Linked DNA regions of Homo sapiens: all the other regions are linked to region 3. Evidence: promoter capture Hi-C in 16 types of primary human blood cells and fetal thymus (Javierre and others, 2016). All regions are on one chromosome and are shown on one strand. Each heading gives the region's core, a stretch centred on a gene start or on the middle of the fragment in contact. The rest is flanking DNA. Distances are from core to core; before and after follow the strand shown.

The links. The method cuts DNA at HindIII sites, captures the fragments that hold promoters and counts their contacts. A CHiCAGO score of 5 or more calls a contact.
Region 1: a contact is called between a fragment that was not itself captured here and the fragment with the promoter of CNTF in region 3, in 3 of 17 cell types (naive CD8 T cells, monocytes and naive CD4 T cells). The highest score is 8.3, in naive CD8 T cells.
Region 2: a contact is called between a fragment that was not itself captured here and the fragment with the promoter of CNTF in region 3, in 1 of 17 cell types (total CD8 T cells). The highest score is 6.9, in total CD8 T cells.
Region 4: a contact is called between a fragment that was not itself captured here and the fragment with the promoter of CNTF in region 3, in 4 of 17 cell types (total CD4 T cells, naive CD4 T cells, naive CD8 T cells and 1 more). The highest score is 7.8, in total CD4 T cells.
Region 5: a contact is called between the fragment with the promoter of DTX4 here and the fragment with the promoter of CNTF in region 3, in 5 of 17 cell types (total B cells, naive B cells, neutrophils and 2 more). The highest score is 8.8, in total B cells.

Annotation. Positions count from the first base shown.
Region 1 is chr11:57,680,663-57,683,362 of GRCh38, forward strand. ZDHHC5 (zDHHC palmitoyltransferase 5) reads left to right here. Exons shown (of 12, transcript NM_015457.3): 3 at 1,760-1,881. Among named protein-coding and RNA genes, the nearest start is that of ZDHHC5, 14 kb to the left of the region's middle. The HindIII fragment of the contact is 2,243 bases long and covers 201-2,443 here.
Region 2 is chr11:57,800,244-57,802,943 of GRCh38, forward strand. It overlaps CTNND1 (catenin delta 1), which reads left to right. Exons shown (of 21, transcript NM_001085458.2): 7 at 1,490-1,953. TMX2-CTNND1 (TMX2-CTNND1 readthrough (NMD candidate)) reads left to right here. Exons shown (of 21, transcript NR_037646.1): 8 at 1,490-1,953. Among named protein-coding and RNA genes, the nearest start is that of CTNND1, 40 kb to the left of the region's middle. RefSeq lists an enhancer at 270-509. The HindIII fragment of the contact is 603 bases long and covers 975-1,577 here.
Region 3 is chr11:58,621,307-58,624,006 of GRCh38, forward strand. CNTF (ciliary neurotrophic factor) reads left to right here and starts at 1,359. Exons shown (of 2, transcript NM_000614.4): 1 at 1,359-1,560. The coding sequence starts at 1,447. It overlaps ZFP91 (ZFP91 zinc finger protein, atypical E3 ubiquitin ligase), which reads left to right. Exons shown (of 11, transcript NM_053023.5): 11 at 1-244. It overlaps ZFP91-CNTF (ZFP91-CNTF readthrough (NMD candidate)), which reads left to right. Exons shown (of 13, transcript NR_024091.1): 12 at 1,460-1,560. The HindIII fragment of the contact is 9,454 bases long and covers 1-2,700 here.
Region 4 is chr11:57,818,770-57,821,469 of GRCh38, forward strand. It overlaps CTNND1 (catenin delta 1), which reads left to right. Exons shown (of 21, transcript NM_001085458.2): 21 at 1-771. TMX2-CTNND1 (TMX2-CTNND1 readthrough (NMD candidate)) reads left to right here. Exons shown (of 21, transcript NR_037646.1): 21 at 1-411. Among named protein-coding and RNA genes, the nearest start is that of CTNND1, 58 kb to the left of the region's middle. The HindIII fragment of the contact is 1,768 bases long and covers 500-2,267 here.
Region 5 is chr11:59,170,845-59,173,544 of GRCh38, forward strand. It overlaps DTX4 (deltex E3 ubiquitin ligase 4), which reads left to right and starts at 1,288. Exons shown (of 9, transcript NM_015177.2): 1 at 1,288-1,962. The coding sequence starts at 1,752. It overlaps LOC124902601 (basic proline-rich protein-like), which reads right to left and starts at 2,601. Exons shown (of 2, transcript XM_047427951.1): 1 at 2,421-2,601; 2 at 1-1,886. The coding sequence starts at 2,601. The coding sequence ends at 1,078. RefSeq lists enhancers at 425-965, 1,052-1,346, 1,974-2,700, 2,245-2,354 and silencers at 1,225-1,794, 1,855-1,904. The HindIII fragment of the contact is 13,201 bases long and covers 1-2,700 here.

The DNA.
Region 1 (2,700 bases), core at 72-2,571, 940 kb before region 3:
GAAGTGACAACTTAGTACTAGGGAGGGGCTCTGACCTGGATGACTGGTTTTCAGTTTCTCTCCCTCCTTCTTAAGGAACCTAGGAGGTCAGGCTTTGGGGTGAGGCGGTGCAGGAACTCTTCTTTTTGCTTATATTCCACTCCAAACCCTGCCAATGTATGGAGACATCTTTTCTGAACCAAAGAACTCACAGAGGAAGAAGCTTCCATGGGGGGCTTTCTTTGAGGATAGTATAGAACTATGACTGAAGGTCTGTTTAGTCCCTAAAATTGATGCCCTTGCTCCAGCTTCGTTATTTTGTCTGCTAATTGTGTACTGACATATCAAGAGAACCAAACAGCTAATGGATATTTACTATCTAAAAAGCCTGGCATATAATAAATACTAAAAACTTTTCAAAATGAATGGCTGAATGGAATTTGAATAAATAGATGGTGGTGGTAAAGATTTGTGAGATGCTTTGTGACAGTTTTGTCTCTTATCTTGATTTGCTTGTATCTCGTTAAGGAACTGAGTTCCTCCAAACTGCTCTGAGTCAGTCTCAGGGCTGTGCTTTTTGTTTTGGTGGGTGCAGATACCTTTTCTTCACAGAATCCCAGACTGCTGTGGTTTAATTCTCTGGAATCATATGCTGTCTTGTTCTCCTGTCCTCTTCTTCCTTTCCTTCAGTGAGTTCTTCCTTTGCTTTGACTGGTTCAGATAAAGGGGACAAGGACAGATGCTGTCCTCATTCTGGAGATTAAGTTCTCAGCCACAAAGTAGATTAGAGTATTTATCCACTGTCTTGGTAGTGGGAACTTCTCCCTGAGCTGAGACGAGAGTGTTTGATACTACTGACAAAAAAGTAGCACATCAGGTTCTTCCAAAACTTCCAGCTCCCAGGAAATCAGCAGAGAAAGGAAGAGCTCTTGAAGCATTCCTACGTAGATTCAAATCCTGAAAGAAACTGAGTTTAATTCTGGACTAGAGAATTGTTTTTTTGATCAAGAAAAGTTACCTTAAAGCATATCTTGAGTTGACTGCTGTGGAATACTGGGTATGTTTGGGTAGTTTCTTTTTCCTACAAAATTGAGGGCTTCTTTGGTCTGATAGTCTCTATCCTCCCCCATTCCTGCTTCATTTTTAGACATCAAAGGGTTTACTTCTGTGTCTTGATATCCATTCTCATCTGTGTGTTTTAAAAGAATTTCCCAACCTTAAGAACTGGCCTGTAGTTGAGTAAACTCTCAGGCATATCCAATGCAATGGAGATACTTTAGGCACTTATGTGGTTCAGTCCCCTGGCAAGGGGGAGGCGGGGGCTAGAAAGGTAGGTGGTATCCCATGCTTTGGGCCAATGTGCAGGTCAATGGGACATAGCTGGGATCCAGAAACCTCAGGCTGCTCCAGAGAAGGGAGTGTAGCTGATATCATAGTCAGTACCTGGTTCTCATGTCTGGTTAGAAAGGAGATAAGGACAGATCTCAAAACATGTGGCAAGATCCACAGGGTAGGAATGAATCTGAAGCACAAAGACCTTAGTGCAACAGGTTAAGATGGGAGAGATTCTGAGTCTTGTACTTTTATCTAAAGTGAGCAGTTCCCATAGGAAACTAGACTCACTTAGTGGGAAAGATAAAGATAATAATTTGGGATGGCAAAGGTAAACCACACAAGATTTATCTATAGGTAAGGGGCTAAGTCTTTACAGATTTTTGTATGTATGGTTCGTGTCCAAAATATTAGAGGCAACCCCTCATTTTCTTTATTGTCTGTGCAGGTGTCCAGGACTAAGCCTGTATGTGTCACCTGCAGTGCCCATCTACAATGCAATTATGTTTCTCTTTGTGTTGGCCAACTTCAGCATGGCCACCTTCATGGACCCAGGGATTTTCCCTCGAGGTAAGATCTGCTTCTCTCTTAGAAGCACCTTACACTGCCTTTGAAAAATAATGAGTTGGCCATACACAGTTGATCTTGGGCCTTAAGAGTCCTGGGATTTTGGGATATGAAAAATAATGATTTGGGCATACGCAGTTGATCTTGGGCCTTAAAGTCCGGGGATTTTGGGATACTTTTATCATTTTCTGATGATGAAAATCAGGTCAGGGTCTTTAGGAATATATGTCATAACTTCTAGTCCTATGATTCACTTTGGGTCAAATCTTTGAGTTTTAGTGATTTGTTCAGCAGAAATTTATTTAAAGCATATGGGTTGGATGCTATTTTTAGGTACAGTAATACCCACAGTGAATTAAGACAGTTATGACAGTGTGATGCAGACTATAATGGAGGCAAGAGCAAGGTTCTGTGAGAATACAAACAATTGAGAACAAAGAAATATGAGAACATATTTTGCCCAAATAAATTGGGGAAATGCTGCTGAAAATAGGTGGGAAAGACTTTACCAAGTAGAATATAGGAGGGAAGGGCATTTTTAGGCAGAGGAAACAGCACATGCAGAAGCTTGTAGCCATGAAATGGCAAACTTAGTGGGGCTAGAGGATGTTATGCATGGTGTGACCAGAGGGATGGGAGGTAAACCCAGAGCCAAATTGTCAAGGACTTTACATACTAAGTTAAATAGATCATACATTTTCCTTTGGATAGGAAGAGGTCTTTAATTGGAGGACTCAACATCAGAATTCCTTTTAGAAAAATAATTCGTGTAAGAATTACAGCTACCTTTTGGGAGGCTGTGGAAATAAACCAGATGAGAAC
Region 2 (2,700 bases), core at 26-2,525, 820 kb before region 3:
TGATTTGAAGGGTTTAATCTTGACCTTTTTTTTTTTTTCTTCGAAATAGAGTCTCGCTCTGTCACTTAGGCTGGAGTGCAGTGGCACAATCTCAGTTCACTGCAACCTCCACCTCTTGGGTTCAAGCGATTCTCTTGCCTCCGCCTCCCAAGTAGCTGGGATTACAGGTGCCCACCACCATGCCCAGCTAATTTTTGTATTTTTAGTAGAGATGGTGTTTTTCCATGTTGGCCATGCTGGTCTCGAACTTCTGACCTCAGGTAATCCGCCCACTGCAGCCTCCCAAAGTGCTGGGATTACAGATGTGAGCCACCATGCCTGGTCCTGTTTCCGTGTTATTTTAAGACCATCTTGGTCATGGTTTACTAAATGCTTTGTCCATCTGAATCACTGTTGCATAGTTGATGTTGATACCTGTGAGGCAGGCCTTCTGCTCAGGGCAACCTTGAGTATTTGTTGACAGTGGGAGTGGTTTTGTAGAACAAACAATGGCTTATTTGGAGAGCTCCACACAATAGATTATCCTCTCCTGTGGGAGCCAGAAAGAGATGAGCTCACAGATAATGGGTTTCTTCCTTCCTGGTAGTTACGAATAAATAATAGTGTGACAGACTCACCCTCTAGTGGTTGTTGGTAGTACTGAAACAGGAAGAATTGTCTCCTGGTTTGATTTTTCTTACTTTCAATTGCTTTCTCTGTTCCTAGTGGCTGGGCTTCCCAAATGTGATGTTGGTGAATAGGCTTCATTTTGAAAGAGCTGGAGGTATTGTCTTTAGAAATTGGAGGATGGAATCTTACCTCTTAACACATTTGTTGAGTAGCAGACATGACCTTGGAATGACTGTGAAAATTACTTTTCAAGTTTATACCTCATCAGTACCAAAGCCAGATCCTCCTGTGATGTAGCAGGAAGCCCTTTATTAGTTTTTCTCTATCAATCCATCTTTTATAATTTCCAAAATAGGATAAGGAGAAGCTTAAATATGAAATGTATTTAAAGGTCTTATCCTACCAGTTGTTTCCTGTGTGTAAATGCCTAATTTCCTGTTTGGTTAAGGAACTGTTCTCAGACTTCTGTGGCATTGAGTCAGTTGCTTTGGTTAATTCTGTTCTCTGAGAGTTTATCCTGATCTCTACCTAGACAAGTTAATAACTGTCAGATATCATTCAAATAAATGATAAGTAGTAAGGATTTGGTTCTTTCTTTTTGATTAGCCTTTCCTGAATGCTTGTTACTTTCTAAGCCTGCAGACTTCAAAGAAAAAAATGTAGTTTTAATTAAATTGCAGGTGTTTTTAAAATTATTACCTTTTATTTTTACTAACCCATTGAGGAAAATTGATCAGTATATTATTCATGCAAAGGAGAGATAAGATGAGCACACTGAAACTCCAGTTAATCCTCCTTTGCAGATGAGGGTAATGGGAATGTCCAGGAAGCTAGCCATAATGACTTGATGTATTCTCTTGGTTCTTCCAAAACTTCTCAGGAGCTATGAAGACATGATTGGTGAGGAGGTGCCATCGGATCAATACTACTGGGCTCCTTTGGCCCAGCATGAGCGAGGAAGTTTAGCAAGCTTGGATAGCCTGCGCAAAGGAGGGCCTCCACCTCCTAATTGGAGACAGCCAGAGCTGCCAGAGGTGATCGCCATGCTTGGATTCCGCTTGGATGCTGTCAAGTCCAATGCAGCTGCATACCTGCAACACTTATGCTACCGCAATGACAAGGTGAAGACTGACGTGCGGAAGCTCAAGGGCATCCCAGTACTGGTGGGATTGTTAGACCATCCCAAAAAGGAAGTGCACCTTGGAGCCTGTGGAGCTCTCAAGAATATCTCTTTTGGACGTGACCAGGATAACAAGATTGCCATAAAAAACTGTGATGGTGTGCCTGCCCTTGTGCGATTGCTTCGAAAGGCTCGTGATATGGACCTTACTGAAGTTATTACCGGTGAGTTCTAGGCCTAAGGAAAATTGCTAAGTCAGTGTTACTCTCTAGTGATGTTGAGAACTAGAGGGATTTCCAGACCTTTTACTTTTGATGAAAGGTTGTGAACTGGTGGCTGTGGGTCAAATCCATCTCACAGATTTGTTTGGATCACACAGCATTATTGAAATTTTAAAGAACTGGTTGCTGATGTTTAAAATTCAGAAGATTTCACTTAAAATTCCAGATTCTTGGCTTCTATTAAAAACGTGGAAGAGTTGTTAACAATGGATCTCTTTTCTTCCTTAGCAGTATTTGGTCTGAACTGATTGGAGCATGTGCTCTCTAATTTACACTAATCTCCAACACATTCTATTATCTGACCAACTACAGCTGTTTAGGAAGTTGTTTCCCAAACATGGAGCTGTCAACTGCTATTTTTTCACATGCTTGTAATTTCTTTTAATTATCTTCCTCTCTTGACTCACCGGCTTGACCCATATAGACATTTAAGCTTGTGGTTCTTGCTTTATTTAGAGCAGTAGTTTTTCAGATTGTGGGTTGTGATCTATTTGTGTGATCCGTTAGTGAATAAAACAAAATTTTGTGGAGCATAATCAGCATTCCAAGGGAAAGGAATAAAGAAAAAGTAGTATAGACCATTGTTTCTCAGTTGTGGGCCATTTTGCCTGCCCTGCCCTGAGGACATTTGGACATTTGCAGTGTTGGAGATATTTTTGGTTGTTATAACTTGGAACAGGGGAGAGGGAG
Region 3 (2,700 bases), core at 109-2,608:
GTAGATGGAAAATTAAGGATTATGTGAGGTTAATTTTACCCTGATAATGACAAAACCTTGATAGCATTTAATATTAATACTTCTTCTCAAAATTGAATGTTTATATCAAGTACTGATTTTTATTTTAAAAAAGAAAAAACTATAATCCTTCTGCCTTCCAAAAGCCATGCTGTGATAGCTGCCCAGGCTGCTCTGTTACATCTCCCATTTATTGTTTACTTTTATAAATTTGCTTCTAAGATGGTATGTGTTTCAGCTTATTGGCAATATCTATGATATAAATAATGAAAGCTAATTATTTCATTTAGCCCTTACCCAATAAGCATCATTTTCTAAGTTAAATGCAATAGAATGACAACCCTCCAAGTACCTTTTAACTTTTATACTGTCATTTCAAAGCCCAGCTCATTCTCTTATTTTAAGAAGCATGTGGTATGACTGGGTAGGGGAGAAAAAAGGAAAGCATGTTGTCACTTGAGTGAGACTGCTTTAGAAATGTTACCAAGTTAGCGTTGGGTGTTTCCTGTTCTTTGGAAGAGAACAGGCCTAAACAGTACCTTCCTCCTCCTATGTAGCTACCAGGAAGGCACCGTGATTGAAATTAGAGATGCTTCCTTGCTTGATTTTTAAGTATAAATTAAATTACCTTTAAAAAGTACGTAAGGTTAGGAGTGAAAAAAATCCTGTTTTTAAAGGACTTCACACACCCTTTGTTTCTTGAACAAGATGTGAACTACCTAAACAGAAAATGAAATTGGAAAGTCAGTGGGAGAGACAACTATAGAATCAGACTTCTATTTAAATTCAAGCCTCGTTACTTGATTTTGTGCATGTTATTTCTTGAAGTTTCAGTTTCTTATATGGAGAAATAACATTTACCTCAGAAATATTCTGAAGATCAAATGGAATTGCTTTAAAGTATTTAGCTTACTGACTGACCCATGGTAGATACTTAATAAATGGCAGCTGTGTCAATAACAATTTTATTGAATGAACATTTCGCCAGCCTATGAGAAAAAAGACATGGGAAGCATAAGGGAGAATGATAATAAAATGAACTAATTCTAAGTGTGTGAGATAGATTACATTAGGCAGGGGTGCCATGAGGATTGGTATGATAGTGACCTTGTTGCTAAGTGCAAAAGCAAAACAATGACATAGAAACAAGTGTGCTAAGTACTGAGTGGAGGAGAGAGATGGAGGCAGACGCTGCAGGGGAAAAAAAATCTGATTAAAAAGGGCCCTTTGATTCCACAGGCACAAAAATCCACAGCCAGGAATTTGCTACCTCCTCTGAGTCAGGCAGGGCGTGGGGGTGGGGTGCACAATCCCATTAGTAGAGAATGCCCAGTGGGTTTAGTCTTTGAGAGTCACATCTCTTATTTGGACCAGTATAGACAGAAGTAAACCCAGCTGACTTGTTTCCTGGGACAGTTGAGTTAAGGGATGGCTTTCACAGAGCATTCACCGCTGACCCCTCACCGTCGGGACCTCTGTAGCCGCTCTATCTGGCTAGCAAGGAAGATTCGTTCAGACCTGACTGCTCTTACGGAATCCTATGTAAGTTGCCTATTTTGCTGTTATCTGTTTTCCCTTCATCTTTTTTGATCCAGCAACTTACCATCACGCATCAGCTCCATTACCAATTGTGAAAGCTCTAATCATATAGTCATTCATATAGGTTATTTGACATGGGCCCTTCCCTTGAGGAAACCCATGTGACTTTATTTTCTTCCTCTGGGCTGTTTAGGAGATGAAGTTACTTGAATGAGAAAATATATATGGAGTTCTAGAAAGGATTGGTTTATATGTCTTGGAGGCTATTCCAAATTTATTGGCATATATTCTGAATACTACTAGAACAGATTAGCCATGGGCCCTCTGGGTTCTTCATAGCCATTGTTCTGAATTTTTTAGCTATGTAAATGAAAGGTTTATGGGATAGGAAGAGTACTATGAACGTGGGAGGAATTTGTAAATCCTACCAATTTCTCCTATATAGCATTAGCCACCCACCTTTTAGTATTCTGCATCAAAAGTAGATTGTGTCTAAAGAGAAAGGTAAGCTATCAAAAGGATCTCCTAGAAGATTCATTGGAAACTTGTGGAAGTGTCAAATTCTTGAGCTAATTCTGGAGTTCCAGATTTGTCTTCTAACAGTAAGGGGATCCCCATCAATTTCCACCTGAGATATGCTGTGGAAATACTCCAACCCCTGTGGAGAGTTTTGAATTTAGGCTGAGAACTGATTTATCTTTGTACAGCCTCACCAGACAGAAATCAGACTCTTTGGGAGTGCTCAATGGGGAGAGGGAAGTTAGAGAAATTCTACAATGGCTATATTCCAAGTTTTCCTAGTTGTGGCCAGTGTCTTTTACAAGTATGTTTAAAAATACTTTAATATGATTAAAATATTCCAGTTAATGAGAGAGTTTGAAGTGAGAAGGAAAAATTCTTCTAAATCAGTTTTCAACCTTTAGAACTCAATAAAATCTGAACATTCTTCTAAGAAAAATCCATAGGTAGTCAATTTCAGGCAGTATTGGGTCTTTCTAAAGTCCAGTCATAGAGCCCAAATTAAGAGTTCCTACTGTAGACATATTATTTACTTTACAACTTGGATCCTTGGCCAGAGAGATGAGTGAGATTTTGTATGAAATTTAGGGGTGATTTAAGGACACTGGGGTGATGACAGAAGAT
Region 4 (2,700 bases), core at 134-2,633, 800 kb before region 3:
GACAAAACTAACCTTGAATAAGGCCCACTGTAATACGTAGCTCTCTTAAATATAACACTTAGGACTAGAAGATTAGAAACTACCAATCCCAACTACGTAATAGGAAAATGTAGGATCAAAAGGCCCATGTATATAAGTACTGACCACTGGGCCATAATGTTGCTTCTCAGGCTATATGCAGTCCTTTAGTCAGAAGTCAATAGGCCTATTTATTAATATTTTACAGACCATATTACCTGGATTACCAGGGACTATCTTTGCTGCAGAGATCAAGGGTTAAGATCTATGGGAAGATACTTATTTTTCTGAGGTCCTTATGTCCTGTCATATAATTAAAGACTCAAGAGAATTTATGTGAAATGCTTTCTGTATGCCCAAATCTTTAGATTAAAATTATATAGCTGCTCCTGATGATGGTCCTGTCTTGTTTTATTGAACTAGGACTTGGGTATGAAAACTTTCATGGGCTAGTGAGACCAGGAAATCAACTAGCTTTTAAAGCTTGATTTGTGTCTAACAATTGTAGTGTTAGATTAGAGGTTGAAGTACAAAGCCAAAAAGCTATTAAGAGTTTACTTTCCAAAGAGTTTTGATAGCCCTGCTTGAGATGATTTTTATCTAAATAGAAAAGCCTGGCTGCTTGTCAGCAACACTTTATTTCCCTGTTATGTTCTTATCCTTTGGCATTGAGCTAGATACAAACCCTACTCTTCTCTCTTCCTTCTGGATTGGTCCATTTGTTTATCTCATTCAATAAATATTTGCCAAGCACCTCCTATATGCTAAGCGTTGTGTCAAGGTTAGGTTTAGATTAGAGAGTGAAACAGATGGATCTTTTCTCATAGATTGCAATCCATGAGAATCCTCTATAGCTAAGATCTATGATCAGACGAGATCGTGTGCGTTCAGGGTGATATGGCCATAGACAAGATCTATGATCTTAAAAACACTTCTCTCTGTGCCATATCTAAATACAATGAGATGTTACACAGAATGATGTGTAAAGGCCCTATCTCACAAGTTTCTTGACACTGATGTACTTTGTGACAGAGGTCAAAGCTGGGACCTCACTTGGCCACTTTTTTTTTTTTAGACAGAGTCTTGCTCTGTCACTCAGGGGCACAATCTCGGCTCACTGCAACCTCAGCCTCCTGGGTTCAAGCGATTCTTCTGCCTCAGCCTCCCGAGTAGCTGGGATTACAGGTGTGTACCACCACGCCTGGCTAATTTTGTATTTTTAGTAGAGACAGGATTTCACCATGTTGGCCAGGCTGGTCTCAAACTCCTGACCTCAAGTGATCCACCCTTCTTGGCCTCCCAAAGTGCTGGCATTACAGGTGTGAGGCACTGCGCATGGCCGGCCACTTGTTTTTCTTGCTGAACTAATTTTCTTTGCTACAAACTGGAATCACCTCACCCAGGAAGAACTAAGAACCAGTCTTTCCATATCATTTTTTTCTCATTTTGTCTATTTTTATATCTGAAGCAAAGGTTCTTAATATTTTCATAGATGGAATTGACTAGACCTAGCCCTGTATATCTGAGCAAGTTACATAAGAATTCCCTGTATGCTTGTTGAAAATGCAGAGTCCCATGTTCCATTTCCAAAAATCGATTCAGTAGGTGGGACTGAGGAATCTAAAATCATGGTAAGTCATCCAGGTTATCCTCTTTTTTTTTGTTTTTGTTTTTGTTTTTTTTTTTGAGACGGAATTTCACTCTTGTCACCCGGGCTGGAGTGCAATGCCACGATCTCAGCTCAGTGCAACCTCTGCCTCCCGGATTAAAGCGATTCTCCTGCCTCAGCCTCTTGATGAGCTGGGACTACAGGCACCCGCCACCACATCCAGCTAATACTTGTATTTTTAGTAGAGACGGGGTTTCACCATGTTGGCCAGGCTGGTCTTGAACTCCTGACCTCAGGTGATCCATCCACCTAGGCCTCCCAAAGTGCTGGGATTACAGGCATAAGCCACCATGCCTGGCCCATCCAGGTTATTCTGATGTATGTGGTCAGTTAACTGTGACTTAAGGGACTGATCTAGTGACTTGCTTAAGGTTATAGCCTCAAAGTGGAACCCAGGATTACTGGCTTCAACTCCACTGGCAGTAATACTAGCATGGTGAATGTAGACAATATGATGTGGTGATCACCATTTTAAGAGAGCATTCATAGAGGAAACTTTATCTCAAAGGAATGCATTGCTTTCAATAGAGTTTGAGATAATGGTAAGTGATAGGTTGGTGTGTGGTATCTGGGTAGGAGAAGCTTCTCATCCTGAAAATCATATGTAGGTAATGCTCAGGTTGCTGAGGCAGGAAGCTAGCCCTTAATTTGGGGTCCTGTAGGTCACAGAGAATCCCCTGGAATTGCCGACTTTGACTTAAGTGTCACTTCTAGCTACAAAGGGTATCTCAACTGGCGAGCAAGTGGCCCCATTGGCTAAAGCCAAGGAGACCACATCTGGAAACTTAAATCACTCTGGTAGCTTCCAGAAAGAGCTACCTCAGGAAAGCTCAAAAAAGAAACAAGATAATTGTTAGGAACAATTTTTTTTCACACAGCTTTAAGACTGTTCTGTTGCCTGTGTCACTTAAAGCATTAGTTCTTCAACTGATCCATCCAGGATTTAGAGACAGACATGGATGAAGAGAAAGCTGGAGGAGGTAAGATAGGTTGATTGGTCTGCATCATTTTAA
Region 5 (2,700 bases), core at 38-2,537, 550 kb after region 3:
CCGACTAGGCATTTTGGAGGCCAAGCTGTGCAAGAAGACCAGAAAGAACAAAGCTCAGAGGTTCCTTGAGCCTGGTGCCTTTAGGGGCCTGAAGAAGAACAGATCTCACACTTTTTCTTTTGCTTTGTATTTAGAACTCTGTTGGGAGAAAGATAAAGGTAGAAGGATGCAAAATTCTAACAATGGGAGAAATGACAGCTGCAAGGAGAGGGAGGGGGAAGCAACTCTTCTAAAACATAAAAGGGTCATATGATATTTATGAAAAAATTGATTATTTCAAAAAGATTCACAATCCCATTCTCTAACACATAATCTATTTTTACTTTCCCGCATCCTATAACTTGGATCTTGATAAGACTCGATTCGTTGTTTTATGTGGTTTGCAATCTCAACAAAACAAAATTTGTGTTCTTTGACAAGGATAATGCATAATCCTGACTTCAGTCTTCCCTTTTAGTCAGAACCTACCTATTTAAGGTTATTTTCCATATTAACTATTGATGATCAAAATAAGTCTAACTCGTGTTTTTCCTAGTGTTTCATAATTTTAGTTACAGAAACGATGCAGATAAAATTAATCTAACATGCGTCTTCCTGACTCTAGTACGTTGAATCTGGCCAGAAAAACCACATTTGCTCTCTACGTAGGTAATATAAATCCATCATTAGCGAAATTGCTGCATCCCTTTGGACTGGGTCTCATTAGCAGAGGTTGGAGTGGCCACTGGCCGGCACACGACACTTTAGGCCAGCAGGGGGCGGGTAAGCTCCAGGGCACTCGCCCGAGCAGCAGGGGGCGTGTCTTCTGCTTCCTTGACGGACAGCTAAGGATGCGGGAGAGGATGAGGTAATAGGAGCCGGGGCAAGGAAGGAGTTGGGGTGCGCGCGCGTGTGTGTGCGACTGTGAGTGTGCCAGTGCGTGCGCAAGCCCCGAGACAATGCGTGTCTCCAGTTCGCGCTGCGGACACTGATCATGCTGCATTAAGGAAAAAAAAAGAGAGAGAGAGAGAAAATTACATTTGGGGGAAGGAGGCTGCAAAGTTGCGGCTGGGCGACAGTGGTGGTCCCGGGGCCGTGTCATGGCGGGTCGCTTCTCTGCATCAAGGAACCAGGGAAACACACGCGGGCGCGGGTTTGCCTTAGCGCCCTGCTTGGGAGGGGTGGTTCATTCTGGAAGGAACTGAGCAGAGCCACAGGCAGGGGGAGCTCTCCCAGCGGCGGGGACTGCAATTCGTGCGGCGAAGGGGTGGGGAGGGAGGGAGAGAGGGGAGGGGACCAGAGCGTGCCATTCCGAGCGCGGCCGTGCGGCGAGATCCCACCCCGGCGTCTGCAGAGGCCGAGGCGCAACTGGTGCGAGGGCTGGGTCCTTGCCTCGCCGTCAGCCCCAGCTCGCGGCCGCCGGGGCTCGGGCCGCGCGCCCGCCGAGTGGCTTTTGCAAGGCGGGGGCCTGTTTGCAGAGAGCCGGGCATTTGCATGAAGCGACTCGACCCCACAGAGCAGCGGCAGCAGCAGCGGACCCCGGCGGCGGCGGCGGCGCGCGGTCCCAGCCAGGCGGCCCCGGTGTCCCGGCCCCGGTGGATGCACGGCTGGGGAGGAGCCCATGGGCCGGAGCTGAGGCTGCCCGGGGCGGCGGGGCGCGGGGCAGGGGGCGCGGTCGAGGCCCGGAGGCGGCGGCGCAGGAGGAAGCGGAGGAGGTCGGGCGCTCGGGGCCCGGGAGGCGGGCCGCGCAGCGCCGCAGCCCCGGGCTCGCCATGCTCCTGGCCTCGGCCGTGGTGGTCTGGGAATGGCTGAACGAGCACGGCCGCTGGCGTCCCTACAGCCCAGCGGTGAGCCACCACATCGAGGCGGTGGTCCGCGCCGGCCCCCGCGCGGGGGGCAGCGTGGTGCTGGGCCAGGTGGACAGCCGTCTCGCGCCCTACATCATCGACCTGCAGTCCATGAACCAGTTCCGCCAAGACACGGGTGAGCCAGCCGCCCCTGACCCCGCCCCGCCTGCTCCCACCTTCCCAACCTGCCAAGGTACCTCCCTCCCTGTGAACCCACCTTGGCCACCTAGTCGGCACTTCTGTGCAGCAGTGTCACCAAGAGGTGGTGGTGGGAGGCGATTCACTCCGCTGAATCCTCGCAGGATCCTCCCTCCCCCTTAAACATCCATGCAAATAGTATCAGTGTTGTGGTTTTGCAAACCCAGCTTCAACCTAGTCGGTAACAATCCACTCCCCACCCCTTTCATGCCCCCGCTTTTCAGCAGTTGGTGGCCCTAAGTCTTTCTATGTAGAAATTCTAGGGCCGCCCCAGACTACAGGCAATCCCAGCCCTTCGCAAAGGCTTCCTGCCCTCATCCCGTGGCGGCCGGCACCTTGGCTGACCTGACCCTGTTTTGCTTCAGGCACGCTGGGGCTTGCCACACGTCCCCTCACCCCCGATCTCACTGCCTCTGCGTCTCCTGTGTGGGATGCCTCCCCGCAGCTGGGTCCTGGGTGTGGGAACTGGGGGAGGAAGAAGGGATTCCCCGGAGGTTCTCGCTACAGTCGGGTAAGGGAAGCGCCGGGCTCCCTGGGAGGAGAGACTAGGGCTGGGGTACCCTGGACGCCGCGGCATTGGCGAATGCCTCTGCTACACACTACATGCGCGGAAGCAACAGGCCGGAGCAGATGGAGAGAGGAGGGGGAGGCTCGGGGCTTCGGAATGCATGGCAGG